Linked DNA regions of Homo sapiens: region 1 is linked to region 2. The links are contacts of gene promoters, found by promoter capture Hi-C in human tissues and cell types (Jung and others, 2019). All regions are on one chromosome and are shown on one strand. The core of a region is centred on a gene start or on the middle of the fragment in contact, and the rest is flanking DNA. Distances in the headings are between cores, read along the strand shown.

Region 1 (6,195 bases), core at 1,774-4,273, 170 kb before region 2:
CATCAGGGCAGGGGCAGGGGGAAGCAGTGCAGGAGAGTGAACAAGTGCAGGGGCCCTGGGGCAGGCCTGTGTGTCCTTGCCATAACACAGCAGCTCAGGGCAGGGTGGGGGTGTGGGGAGGCTGGAACGGCGTGAGTGAGGGGAGAGGAGAGTAGAGGATGTATGCATGGTGAGGACTCGGAGGGATGGACACCACTGCAGGCTTCCAGCCAGCAGACCTGAGGGCAAGTCTGGTCCTATCAACATGCACAGAGTGGCAGCTGTGGGTCTCTCATCTACAAACAGATCTGGGGGTCCCCTACCTCCTGAGGCCATGCTCCCTCCCATCTGCAGCCTGCCCATCTATTACTTCTCCATATTTGCTCCCTCCTCTGCAACTCACCTATGCTTTCATTCTGAGCTATGGGCAGGAGGAGGTGACCTCCTGCTCCCAGTGGTCCAGGTCCGGCAGGATGGACAGCACCATGGCTGCTGGGAGAAGGAAGATGCTGCCAGGTGGGCAGGAGGGGCCCAGGTACTGGCAATCAAAGGTCAGAGCTGGTAGCTGACTCTTGGAGCTGGAAGGACCCTTCTGGACCAGCCACCCCTACCTTTCCCCTCCAGCTTTTATTTATTTATTTAAATGATGTCTCACTCTGTCACCCAGGCTGGAGTGCAGAGGCACGATCTCAGCTCATTGTAGCCTCCGCCTCCTGGGTTCAAATGATTCTCCTGCCACAGCCTCTTGAGTAGCTGGGATTATAGATGTCTGCCACCATGCCCGGCTAATTTTTGTTTTTTTTTTTTTTATAGTAGAGATGGGGTTTCACCATGTTGGCCAGGCTGGTCTTGAACTCCAGATCTCAAATGATCCACCTGCCTCGGACTCCCAAAGTGTTGGGATTACAGGCGTGAGCTGCCACGCCCAGCCTGCCCTCTAGCTTTTAATTTGAATATTTTTGTACTACAGAGAAATTAAAAGAATCATGCAATGAATACCCTTACACCCTTCGCCAAGCCTCCCTAGTTAGCATTTTGCCACATTTGTGCTGTTCTCTTGGTAGGCAGGTATGTGGCTGGGGTAGGGCAGGGTGGGAGAGAGCGAGAGAGATATCATAAAGCTTCACCCCTAAAAACTTGGGCATGCATCCGTGTATCAAGCAGAATACTACAACAAGCGGCATTCTCCCACACAACAAAAATACTAACTAAATACCAGAATAACCAAAATGTTTAACATTGTTACAAGGCTGTCCTCATACAGCTCATATTCTAGTTCCCCAAATGTCTCGATAATGTCCTTTATAGCAGTTTTACTTTTATTCTTTTCAGTACGGGATTCCATCAAGGATCAGGCACTTCCTTTGGTTGTTACATTCCTTTAGGGTCTAATCTGGAATGAATAGTCCCCACTGTACCATCGCCCCCACCTTTTTTTTCCTTTCATGACATTGACATTTGTAAAAGAGACAGCCCAGGTGTCTTGTAGAATGTTCCTCAATTTGGGTGTGTCTGATTGTTTCCTTGTGATTAGACTTGGCTAAGCATTCTGGGCACGAGATCTGCAGAGGGGAGGCTGTGTCTCCCATTGTGTTATATAAGGAGGGGCCTCCTGCCAGTTTGTCTCATCATTGGTAATGCTAAGGTGTGATCATTTGACTAATGTGTTCCCGAAGATCTCTCCATTATAAAGCTAATCTTTCCTTTTGTACATAGTAATTCATCTGTGTGATGAATTATGATATTTGAGATATGTGAGTACCTGTTTCCTCACGAATTTTCACATAGTGATTTTAGCAGCTATTGATGCCTTGCCTGAATCAATTATTGCATTAGTAGCTGCAAATAGAGATTTTTCCCATTATCCTTTCTATGTTCTTCTGTAAAGCTTTCCTCTCCCTTCCCTCTCCCCTGCTTTCGTAGTATCATCATACACAGATTAAAAAACTATTATTATTGTTCGATGTGTTGTAAATCCATTATCATCACTGTTCTTATTTGACGCTCAAATTGTTCCAAGTTTGGCCTCCAGGTAGGGGCCCCTTCAGGTGAACTCTTATGTCCTTCCTACTTTTTAAAAACAATTTGATTGAGGTATAGTTGACACACAATGAATTGCCCATATTTTAATATACGACTTAATAAGTTTTGACATATGTGTACACGCATGAAATCGTCACCGTATTCCAGGGAGTGAACACACCCGTCACAACTAATTCTCCTCAGGTATCTTTGGTTTTTTGTTTTGTTTTGAGACAGACTGTCACTCTGTTGCCCAGGCTGGAGTGCAGTGGTGCGATCTCAGCTCACTGCAACCTCCGCTTCCTGGGTTCAACTGATTTTCATGCCTCAGCCTCCCTAGTAGCTGGGACTACAGGCGCCTGCCACCACGCCCCGCTAATTTTTGTATTTTTAGTAGAGATGGGGTTTCACCATGTTGGTTGGTCATGCTGGTCTCAAACTCCTGGCCTCAAGGGATCCACAGGCCTCGGCCTCCCCAAGTGCTGGGATTACAGGCGTGAGCCACTGCCCCCGGCCCTCCTCGGGTATCTTTGTCATATTCCCCTGCAGCCCTTCACCATCTTGAAGGAACCACTGACTTGCTTTCAGTTACTATAGATTGGTTTGCATTTTTTAGCGTTTTATGTAAATAAAATCATACTCTTTGTGTCTAGTTCCTCTCCCTCAGCATTGTTACTTTGAGACTCACCCATGTTACTGCATGTATGCCTAGTTTTCCTTTGTGTTCTTGAGTAGCATTTGGCTGTGTGGATATACCACAATTCTTTTATCCATGCATTGATATGCAGATGGACAGATGGGTTGTTTCCAGTTTGGGGCTATTATAAATAAAGATGTACTTATCTAAGTCTTTGCATGAACATGGATTTCCTTTTCTTTTGAGTAAGTACCTGGAAGTGAAATGGCTGGAGTTTATGGTTAATTTTTAAGAAATTGCTGAAGTGTTTCAAAAGTGGTAATACCATTTTCCATCCTACCAACAGGGCATAAGAGTTCCAGTTCTTCCTCCTACTTACCAACATAGGTGTGTAGCAAGTAGCACCTTATTGGAGATTTAATTTGATTTTTTTTTTTTTTTTTTTTTGAGACGGAGTCTTGCTCTGTCACCCAGGCTAGAGTGCAGTGGTGTGATCTCGGCTCACTGAAACCTCTGCCTGCCAGGTTCCAGCAATTCTCCTGCCTCAGCCTCCTGGGTAGCTGGGTTTACAGGTGCATGCCACCACGCCCAGCTAATTTTTGTATTTTTAGTAGAGGCGGGGTTTTACCATGTTGGCCAGGCTTGTCTGCAATTCCTGCCCTCAGGTGATCCACCCATCTCGGCCTCCCAAAGTGCTGGGATTACAGGCGTGAGGCACTGTGCCCGGCCTAATTTGATCTTTAAATTTAAATTTAAAATGTTTACAACTTAAGTATAAAACAATTAAATTTAAATTTAAAACTTTTCAATTTAATTTTCCTTGATGGCAAATGATGTTGAGCATCTTTTTATGTGCAGTTTGCCATGCTTATGGTCTCTGGTGACATGTCTATTCAAATCTTTTGCCAGCTTGCGGGGGTGTTTTATTATTATTCAATTTTGACAGTTCTTTATATTCTTGATACAAATTCTTTATTAAATACATGCTTTGTAAAGATTTTCTCCCAGTCTGTTTTGTCTGTTTATTCTTTTAACAGTGTCCCTTGAAATGCAGAAGTTTTTAGGTTTTTTTTTTTTTTTTTGAGATGGAGTCTTGCTCTGTCTTCAAGCTGGAGTGCAGTGGCACTATCTCGGCTCACTGCAACCTCCGCCTCCTGGGTTCAAGCGACTCTCCTGCCTCAGCCTCCTGAGTAGCTGGGAGTACAGGTACGTGCCACCACGACCAGCTAATTTTTGTATTTTTAGTACAGATGGAGTTTCACCATGTTGTCCAGGATAGTCTTGATCTCTTGACCTCGTGATCTGCCTGCCTCAGCCTCTCAAAGTGCTGGGATTACAGGCGTGAGCCACTGCGCCCGGCCGAAATACAGAAGTTTTAAATTTTGATGTGGTTCAATTTATCCATTTGTTCTTTTATAAATTGTGCTTTTGCTGTCATCTAAGAGATATCTGCCAGTGCCATCGGGATTTTCTTGTATGTTTTCTCCTAGAAGTTTTGTCATTTTATATTTAAATCTTTGATCCACTTCGATTTAACTTTTGTATACAGTGTGAGGCATATATTGAGTTTATTTTTTTAAATATAGTTATCTGGTTATTCTAGCACCATTTGTTAAAAACGCTAGCCTTTTTCCACAGCACTGCCTTTGTAACTTTGTCAAAAATCAGTTGTCTAAATACATGTGGATCTAATTTTGGACTCACTATTCTTGTCTGTTGATCTATATGCCTATCTTTATGCCAATACCATGCTGTTCTGATTAATGTAGCTTCATAATACTTCTTCAAATCAGATAGTGTTAGCCCTCTAACTGTTCTTTTTTAGAGTTGTTTTGACCATTTTAGGCCCCTTTACTTTTTTATATGAGTTTTAAAATCAGCTTGTCGACTCCTACAAAAAGAGCCTGCTGAGATTTTGGTGGGGATTCCAGTGAATCTATAGGTGAGTTCAGAGAGAATTGCCATCTTAATGACTTTGAGTTTTCCGGCCCACGAACAAACTATGATTAATTCTTGTTATTCATGGTAGTTATGTTTTGTAAAGTGTCCACGAACACTGAATTAGCAAATACTGAACCATTGATCCCAGGGGAAGTACAGAGTGCAGTTCCTGTGAGCCTCTGGCTCCAACATTCTTGTCCATTGATAATACATTACCTTGCTTTGTGTGCATTTCTCTTTAAAGGCACCTTATGTAATAGCTATTTTCTTTTTTTTTTTTTTTTGAGTGCGATGGCATGATCTTAGCTCACTGCAGCCTCCACCTCCCAGGTTCAAGCGATTCTCCTACCTCAGCCTCCTGAGTAGCTGGGATTACAGGCGTGCACCACCATGCCCAGCTAAGTTTTGTATTATTAGTAGAGATGGGGTTTCACCATGTTGGTCAGGCTGGTCTCAAACTCCTGACCTCAGGTGATCCACCCACCTCGGCCTCCCAAAGTGCTGGGATTATAGGCGTGAGTCACCGTGCCTGGCCTATAGTAGCCACTGTTGATTCATCCACATTCAGCTCACATCCAACAGCACCATAATTCACCCCTGAACGGAGCTTTCCTAACACATGTGTCTTCTCCATGAGGCACACTGCAGCCTCCTTGTATGTGGGAACATGAGGCAGCACTTGGGCACTATATATAGGGACAGTTTAAAGTCACCAGCGAAAAGCATACATGTGAAAAACATGGCACTAAATAGACTGTGGAAAGGATCCTTGTCAACAGTTATAAGACCTGAATCAAGAAGGCAGGGAGTTGCCTTGTATGACTTCAGCTGGGAACGTGAGCATCTGGCTACTCACATTTTTGCTGCCTGTACATGTCTCTGAGTGACTGCTACAGCCCTGTGGTTAGATTTTGGGGTTACAAATAAATTTTAGTGAGTAGGTGAATTTGCAAATACAAAATAGTGAGGATCGACTTATATCTCCTCATTTATTTAAATTTCTTTAATTTTCCCAGCAATATTTTGTAGACCATGCAAATCTTTGATTTCTTTTGCCAGATTTATCCATATGTAGTTCATACTTTTTGATGATATTTTAAATGGGTATTATTTTTTCCATTTCAATTCCTGATTATTTATTGCTAGCATATGGAAATACAATTGATTGTTGTATATGGATCGTGAATCTGGCAACCTTGCCAAATTCACTTAGTTCTAATAGCTTTTTATAGATTTCATTAGATTTTCTACATAGATGATGATGTCATCTGCAAATAAAAACAGTTTTACTTCTCTTAATCTCATGCCTTTTATTTCTTTATTTCTTGACTGATGGCACTGGCTAGAAACGCTAGTACAATGTTGAATGATAAGGGCGGACATCCTTATTCCTGATGTTAGGGGGAAGTTACTCAGTCTTCTACCGTTAGTATGATGTTAGCTGTAGTATTTTCATAAATGCCCAAGGAAGGGCAAACTTGGAAGGAGTTTGGACTTTGTTGGAAAAGCTGTAGTTCAGCCACTGGATAGCGGAGAAGTTTGATGGTGTAGTCAGGCTGGAGCTGGCCTGGAGCTGCTGGGTGAGCAGTAGGCCCTCCAGAGTGTGGTCAAGGAGA
Region 2 (6,196 bases), core at 1,611-4,110:
GGACTGCTGCCCACAGGGCCAGCACCATGATTGGTGCATCACTGAGCCCAGGAGAGGGTGAGCTTTATGGCAAGGTTCTCCAGGACTAAGGGGGAAGGCTGCTCCTGGCCTTCTATGTGTGTGTGTGTGTGTGTGTGTGTGTGTGTGTGTGTAAAGGAGGCTGCGGAAGGAGAGGAAAGGCAAATGCAGGAACTATTTGCTCTTGAGGCAACAGTAGACTCAGGGGGTGAAGGATATCAGACATCAATGGCTTAATGAGGATTATCCATGAGTGTCTCTACTCTCACTGCCCCAACTTCCCTCTGGTGAATAACAGTCAGGAGAGGCCCCTGTCCTCTGCTCTTCCAGTGCTTGCTGACTTCCAGCCACGGGAGCCATTGTACTCCCTCTCTAAGAGTCTCTGTGTATTCGAAGGTTATTACCAAGAGCTTATAGAGGCAGAGGTTAGGAGGAGAAGGAGGAAATGAAAAATGAGGAAAGAGAGCAGTTGGAGTGAGGCTTTGGCCTTGGGGATGAAGTAGACGCTCACTCCTGGGCTCCCAGATTCCCAGGGTGGCAATGAATAGACTCCACTCATGTCCTCTGGCCACCATGCAAGAAGCCAGCCTGAGATGTGGCCAAGTGCTTGGTGACCCTGCGCACTGGCTATCACCAACTGGGCAGGGGCTTCCACATAGGGCACCAGGAGTCGCTTGCACCCGCCAGTCAGACCCCTTGTGCTGCCTCGGGAAGAGGAGACAGGGAGGAGAAGGAAAGTGAGGCTGTGGGTCCAGAGGGGAGTGTGGTGGGGCTGCAGCTTCAGGATCTGAGGGATGGGTCTCGGTTCTTCCTCCCTCCCTGGGTGGCTGGGGCCTCTCTGAACTTCTGCTGCCTTCTCCATCTGAGGACGCATTGTGAGATCCACACCACAGGTTTTCTTGTTGTGAGGATGTGATGGAATGTGGAAATGTCTGAGGCATAATAGGTGTTCAGCAAACAGCCCCTTCTACCCTCCTCCTTATGTGAGAGTTTAACGAGCCAGGTGCAGGGAGAGGAGGATGCCCAGGAGAACCTGCTGCATCAAAGCTGGAGGGATGTGGTTTATCAGGAATGATGGGAGCAGAACATCCGCTCCGTACTGGCTGCTTTAAGTGCTATTGACACATCCTCCTTTCACCCTCACAAGAGCCCAAGAGCCCCATGATACTGTTGTCCCCACTGTACAGATGAGCAATCAGAGGTTGAAGTTGGCAGCTTATCCAAGGTCTCTCCGATGGTGAGTGGCAGACCTGAGAGTCAAACTCACATCTTAAATGTCATTAAGCACAGCCTGTGTATGGAGAGGCTGAGTCCCAGAGAAGAAAACTGACCCCACCCCTCAGTGTGGGCAGATTCAAGCCTGGGGAGAGGCAAGGGAGGGGGCAGAAACTTGGAGGGTAGATGGACCTGACTTTAGGTTCTAGCTGGATGACTTACTTGCTGTGTGTCTCTAGGAACTTGGAGGGTAGATGGACCTGACTTTAGGTTCTAGCTGGATGACTTACTTGCTGTGTGTCTCTAGGAACTTGGAGGATAGATGGACCTGACTTTAGGTTCTAGCTGGATGACTTACTTGCTGTGTGTCTCTAGGAAAGTTTCTCAGCTCTCAAACCTCTGTTTTCTCATCTGCAAGATGGGGATAATATTAACCAACTGGCTAGGTCATGAGGATTAAATCTGACAACTCTACCTAACCGCCTGGTGCAGCCAGGTGCCCACAAAATGGGCGGCCCTGCCAGACTTCTGAAATAGTTGTGCCTCCCACCACAAACTGTCTGCTATTGACTGAGAAGAGAAGCATGTTCTCTTCCAAACTCAAAGACCCTTATGTTCTGGAAGATCTCTGTAGCAATGAAGAGTGCCACCTTCAAGCTGCTGCTGGTCCAGGCCAAGGGTATATTGAGGTGGGTCCATCCCTCACCCAGAGTGTGTGCTGAGGCATATTGCAGCCCATATTTTGAGGGGTTTTTCCTGCTATTCATTTTGTGTTGCCGCCAGAGAAAACTAAACTGCAGCTCCTGGCTGTCGGGGAAGAGCTGTGCTTCTGCCAGGGCTAGTGTGCCTGGCACCAGCTCAGGCATGTACCAGAGCCGAATGCCGTTTGCAGGCAAATGTACACACAAAAAGATTCCAGCACACGCGTGCACCAGCCAACACAGAGTTGCCACGGCACGCAACAGCGGGCCATGCACGTGCCTGCTGACTCGGCTGTCATCTTCCGACTCTCTTCCGTGATCAGAAGACTGTCTCAGCCTCTGTCTGTCTCCACGTCTGTCTGTCTGTGGATCAGTGTGTTTTGAGTCTGACAGTCTACCTGGCTGGTTTCCTTTTTTCTTGCTCTGTCCCTCTCTCCTTGTGTTTCTACCCATCTCCCTATCTCTGCCACTCTCTGTCTCTGTTTTTCTTTCTCTTTCTCCCCTCCTTTGTATCACTCCCTAGGTCCGACATTGCCTCTTTCTCGATTTCCGATTCTCTCTGAGTCTCTCTCTCTCTCTCTCTTTCTCTAACTCTTCTGTCTCTGTCCTTCCCTGTCTTCTTTTTCCTGTGACACTCTCCTGGAAACGCATCAAAAACTGAAGTGGCCGGATTTCAAGTGACAAACAGCACTACACCCAGAATCCGCCCCCTCCCCAACACGGCTGCCTTCCTCCTCCACATCCCTGTCACGAAGAGAAGCCTATTGTGTCAGGCCCAGGGAGTTCGAGTTGAAGGGCCTGGGGGTCTGTGCTCTGACTGCTCTCAGCCACTTCCCCATTGGCTCCCAGCAGCCTGTGCTCAGCAAGGGCTGAGCGACAGGGGAGGCTCTCGTCCATAAAAGGGGGGAAGAGGCACCAGAACTGCCATTTGAAGGGGCTTTGGTGGTGTTCACAGCTGCCTCTTTGGCACCTCCTCCCAAGCCGGAGTCAAGGAGGCCCCTGAGCCTTGGACCAGCCACTGCCACCTCCGACCTGCTCGGCCAGAAGCTGCCCAGGGACAAAGCAGAGTGCAGGTAACATCCAGAGGGGGCACTGGAATTCTATCGCTTGGTTTTATTTGCTTATTCCTGGTCCTCTGGACCTAGAGATGGTGGGAGCTCGGGCTGGGGATTTTAGGTTTGGGTCTGATTATCTAGCAAAGGTGGTTACAGTTAGGAGGCTAGTTCACAAAAGCCAGACCAGTGAGAGACTGCTCTTTGGACTCTCCCTTTCTGCACAGTCCTGGCTTAAACAGGTGGTAAGCTCTCTCCCAAGAGGACCACCCTTTGGCTTTAGCTCCAGGGTCTCCTTCTTGCAGTCTCCCACACAGCAGTTCCCATGCCATTCCCAGGGTCTGGGGAAAATGGGACACCCTGGATGGGAGAAGTGAGAGGTTTCACTAATCAGGGTGATTTTAAAGGTCAATGAGTCTCACTGGACTTAGAGAACAATGGCTTGAGGACATTAATGAGATCCAAGGCTCTGGCATTTATCACATAACATGTACATCAATGTACGGCCAGGTTCGGCCTTTTCATTCTTTTCGGATTGTGTTTAATTGCTGACAGGGTGCTGGTTTGAGCGGCTTCTTTTGATGGAATTTGATACAGGTTGAAGTTTGGGGATGTTTTGTTGGAAGGGAATGGGAAAAGGGAGTGACAACAAGCCAGGAGGCCCAGGCTTAGCAGGCATTTTCTTGTCCATTTTACTTGGAAAGGACTTGTTGCTCTCCTATTAACTACAGCCAGAGGAGTCTAAGGCCAGGAGGAGGCTCAAAGGGAAAGCCATTTGCTCACTGGTCCAGAGACCCATATTCAGAAAAGTACCAAGTCTCAAAGTTTGATTCTAGCAAAAAGCTGATGAGTTTCAGGAAAAAAAAAAAAAAAAAAAAAGCCTGCTGACTACTCCAAGGTTGAAGAGTAAATTCTGCAACTGCTTACTTTTTCCTGGGTATCAAGAATCCCTCCAAGCTCTACAAACATTACTTAATTAAGTCTCCAGTCTTCCCAGGGGAAACAAGCTCTTTCGATTATTGGATCTGATTTCAATTCCCCTCCCACAGACTGAAAGTCTTCATTATCATCTTTCTTCCAAGGGTTGCTGAAATATACAAGGCTTGCCTTTCTAATTTGACAGGCATCCCAGTCGAGATCCATTGCAAAGCATTGCAGAATGTCGATCCTCTTCTGTTCTTTCTCACCCCAGGCCTCACTCCCACCCCTCTGTGGCACCTTCCTTCTCTTTTCCCCTCCTCTTCTCCCCCCAGTCCCACCACACCTTGCCTTTGTTCTATTTTTGCAGGTCATTTATCTTCAGGCTTTGAGATCTGCGTGGGGGGAGCTGTTGCAGCAGCCCAAGCCGGTGAGTTATGCTGCCTGGGGGTGGTTTGCGTTCACTGACGGGATCTCAAGCCCACTGCTTTGCCCCAGCTGAGCTAGAGGTGTGATAGGTGGCAGGCAAACCCTATGCCTCTGTTGGCAGCTGGGAGGGGGATGTCACACTGGTTCCCAAGGCTATGTGGCGGAAGGCAGCACATTTTAAGGGAGCAGGCAAAGGGATCAGCTCTGGGGCTATTTGAGAGATTTGCGATCTTAAAACACGTGGAAGGAGTTAAGGTTTCTTGAAGTAACTCCTGGGAGGCAGGAATTTTCCATCTGTCATCTACACGTGTGTCTCACAACACCTGAAACAGTGCTGGGCTGAAATCCCAGATCCTACCACTCACTTACTGTGTGACTTTGGAACAGTAGAAGTCCCTCTCTGAGTCATACTTTCTTTACCTGTATGATGAGAATAATAATAATATTCACCTCCTAAGGTTATTGCAAGTCTCCAATGGGATATAGCAAAATGCCTGGCATTCAGTAGGTGCTCAATAAATACTGGCATGACTGCTCAGATTTTCACTGTTCCGAAGTGGTGAGGTTGGACCTTTCTCTCCATCGATTATCATATCGCTGATCATCCCACTCCATCATGCTGTGTGCTATGTCCAGGAGATATGATCTAATGTCTAATATTTTCATTTGAGGGGCTGGTGCTCCTTTCCCCTCCCCATCCCAGCAGAAGACTTTTTATTTCATCTGCTGCATCAGGATCATGAAGTCTCTTTTTGATCGATACTCCCTAAATCCACCTCCCACTACCCACCTCCTTGGGTCATTCCTGCACAATTGTCGTATTTATTAGATCTCTTCCATCATTGTAAGAGAGATCAATAGTTACTGGTTCGATTTCAATGCATGCCTGACAAAGTGTGGTTACACAGCTGATTTCTCTCACTGTATTCACTCATCTCAGCCCATGAATGTTGGCTAATCTTGCTGGGTCTGACAAAGTGATAAACCTGTTTCACTGAGACAGAGCTGGCCACTGTGGTAGGCAGTGAACATCGGCTGGAGACACCCAGGTAAGCCCCAGGATCAGACCCTCGAAATGGAGTGGGGTCTGTTAGTGCTGTGAAGCGCAGCCTCATCAGTCCCTCCCAGCCTGGATCCAGACTGATGCTCCTGGCAGGAGGACGATGGCCTAGGTCCATGAGGCACATGGCTTGGCTCAGGGGGCTCCTCCGAGTCCATCCAGGTCATCCCACTGGCCAGAGCGGCTGGCCACAAGCCGCAGACATATGCACCGAGGCAATTTGTTGATGCATTGGCTTGAACTGCCATTTGGTCCCTGTCCTATTCCTGGACGATTTGATTTAACTTGACAGCGGTTTACTGAGCAGTTATTATGTGGCAGGGTCTCTTGCCCACTGGTCCCTAGGAACAAAGGGCAGACTCAGAGAGCAGCAGGAGGGAGAGAATTGGTGTTTGTGATTCACACGGTATGTCAGCATCCTGAATCAAAATCTACTCTCCCTCCCCACTTCTCTCTCTCTTATTGTGTTCACTTCCCTTCCCTTTTTTCCCTCTTCTTCCCCTCCTCCTCACCCCCTTCCCTTCTATTCCCATTTGTCCTCTCCCCATCTCTATGTCTCATCTTATTTTTTCTTCCCATATGGTCCTCCACCTCTCTCTGCTTTTTCTCGGTGTCTCGGTCTCTTTTTCTGTGTGTGCAGTTCTCACCTCTGCCATTCTTTTGGGCCCCTGTCTTTTTCTCTGTGTCTATATCTCTAACTCTCTCTTTTTACATCTCTCTCTCTATGTCTCTTCATCTCCATATCTCTCTAGCTTATCCTCTTTTTGCCTTTCTCCCCATCCCTTAATTGCACCAGATAACAA

Evidence for each region. The method cuts DNA at HindIII sites, captures the fragments that hold promoters and counts their contacts. A contact is called where the count stands out against the background at its distance.
Region 1: a contact is called between a fragment that was not itself captured here and the fragment with the promoter of PDYN in region 2, in 1 of the 25 tissues and cell types used here (dorsolateral prefrontal cortex).

Annotation. Positions count from the first base shown.
Region 1 is chr20:2,156,081-2,162,275 of GRCh38, reverse strand. No RefSeq gene overlaps it. Among named protein-coding and RNA genes, the nearest start is that of LINC03086, 48 kb to the left of the region's middle. The HindIII fragment of the contact is 3,078 bases long and covers 1,485-4,562 here.
Region 2 is chr20:1,990,722-1,996,917 of GRCh38, reverse strand. PDYN (prodynorphin) reads left to right here and starts at 2,860. Exons shown (of 4, transcript NM_024411.5): 1 at 2,860-3,007; 2 at 4,275-4,334. The region is part of intron 3 of PDYN-AS1 (PDYN antisense RNA 1); the gene reads right to left. RefSeq lists an enhancer at 2,490-3,320. The HindIII fragment of the contact is 29,966 bases long and covers 1-6,196 here.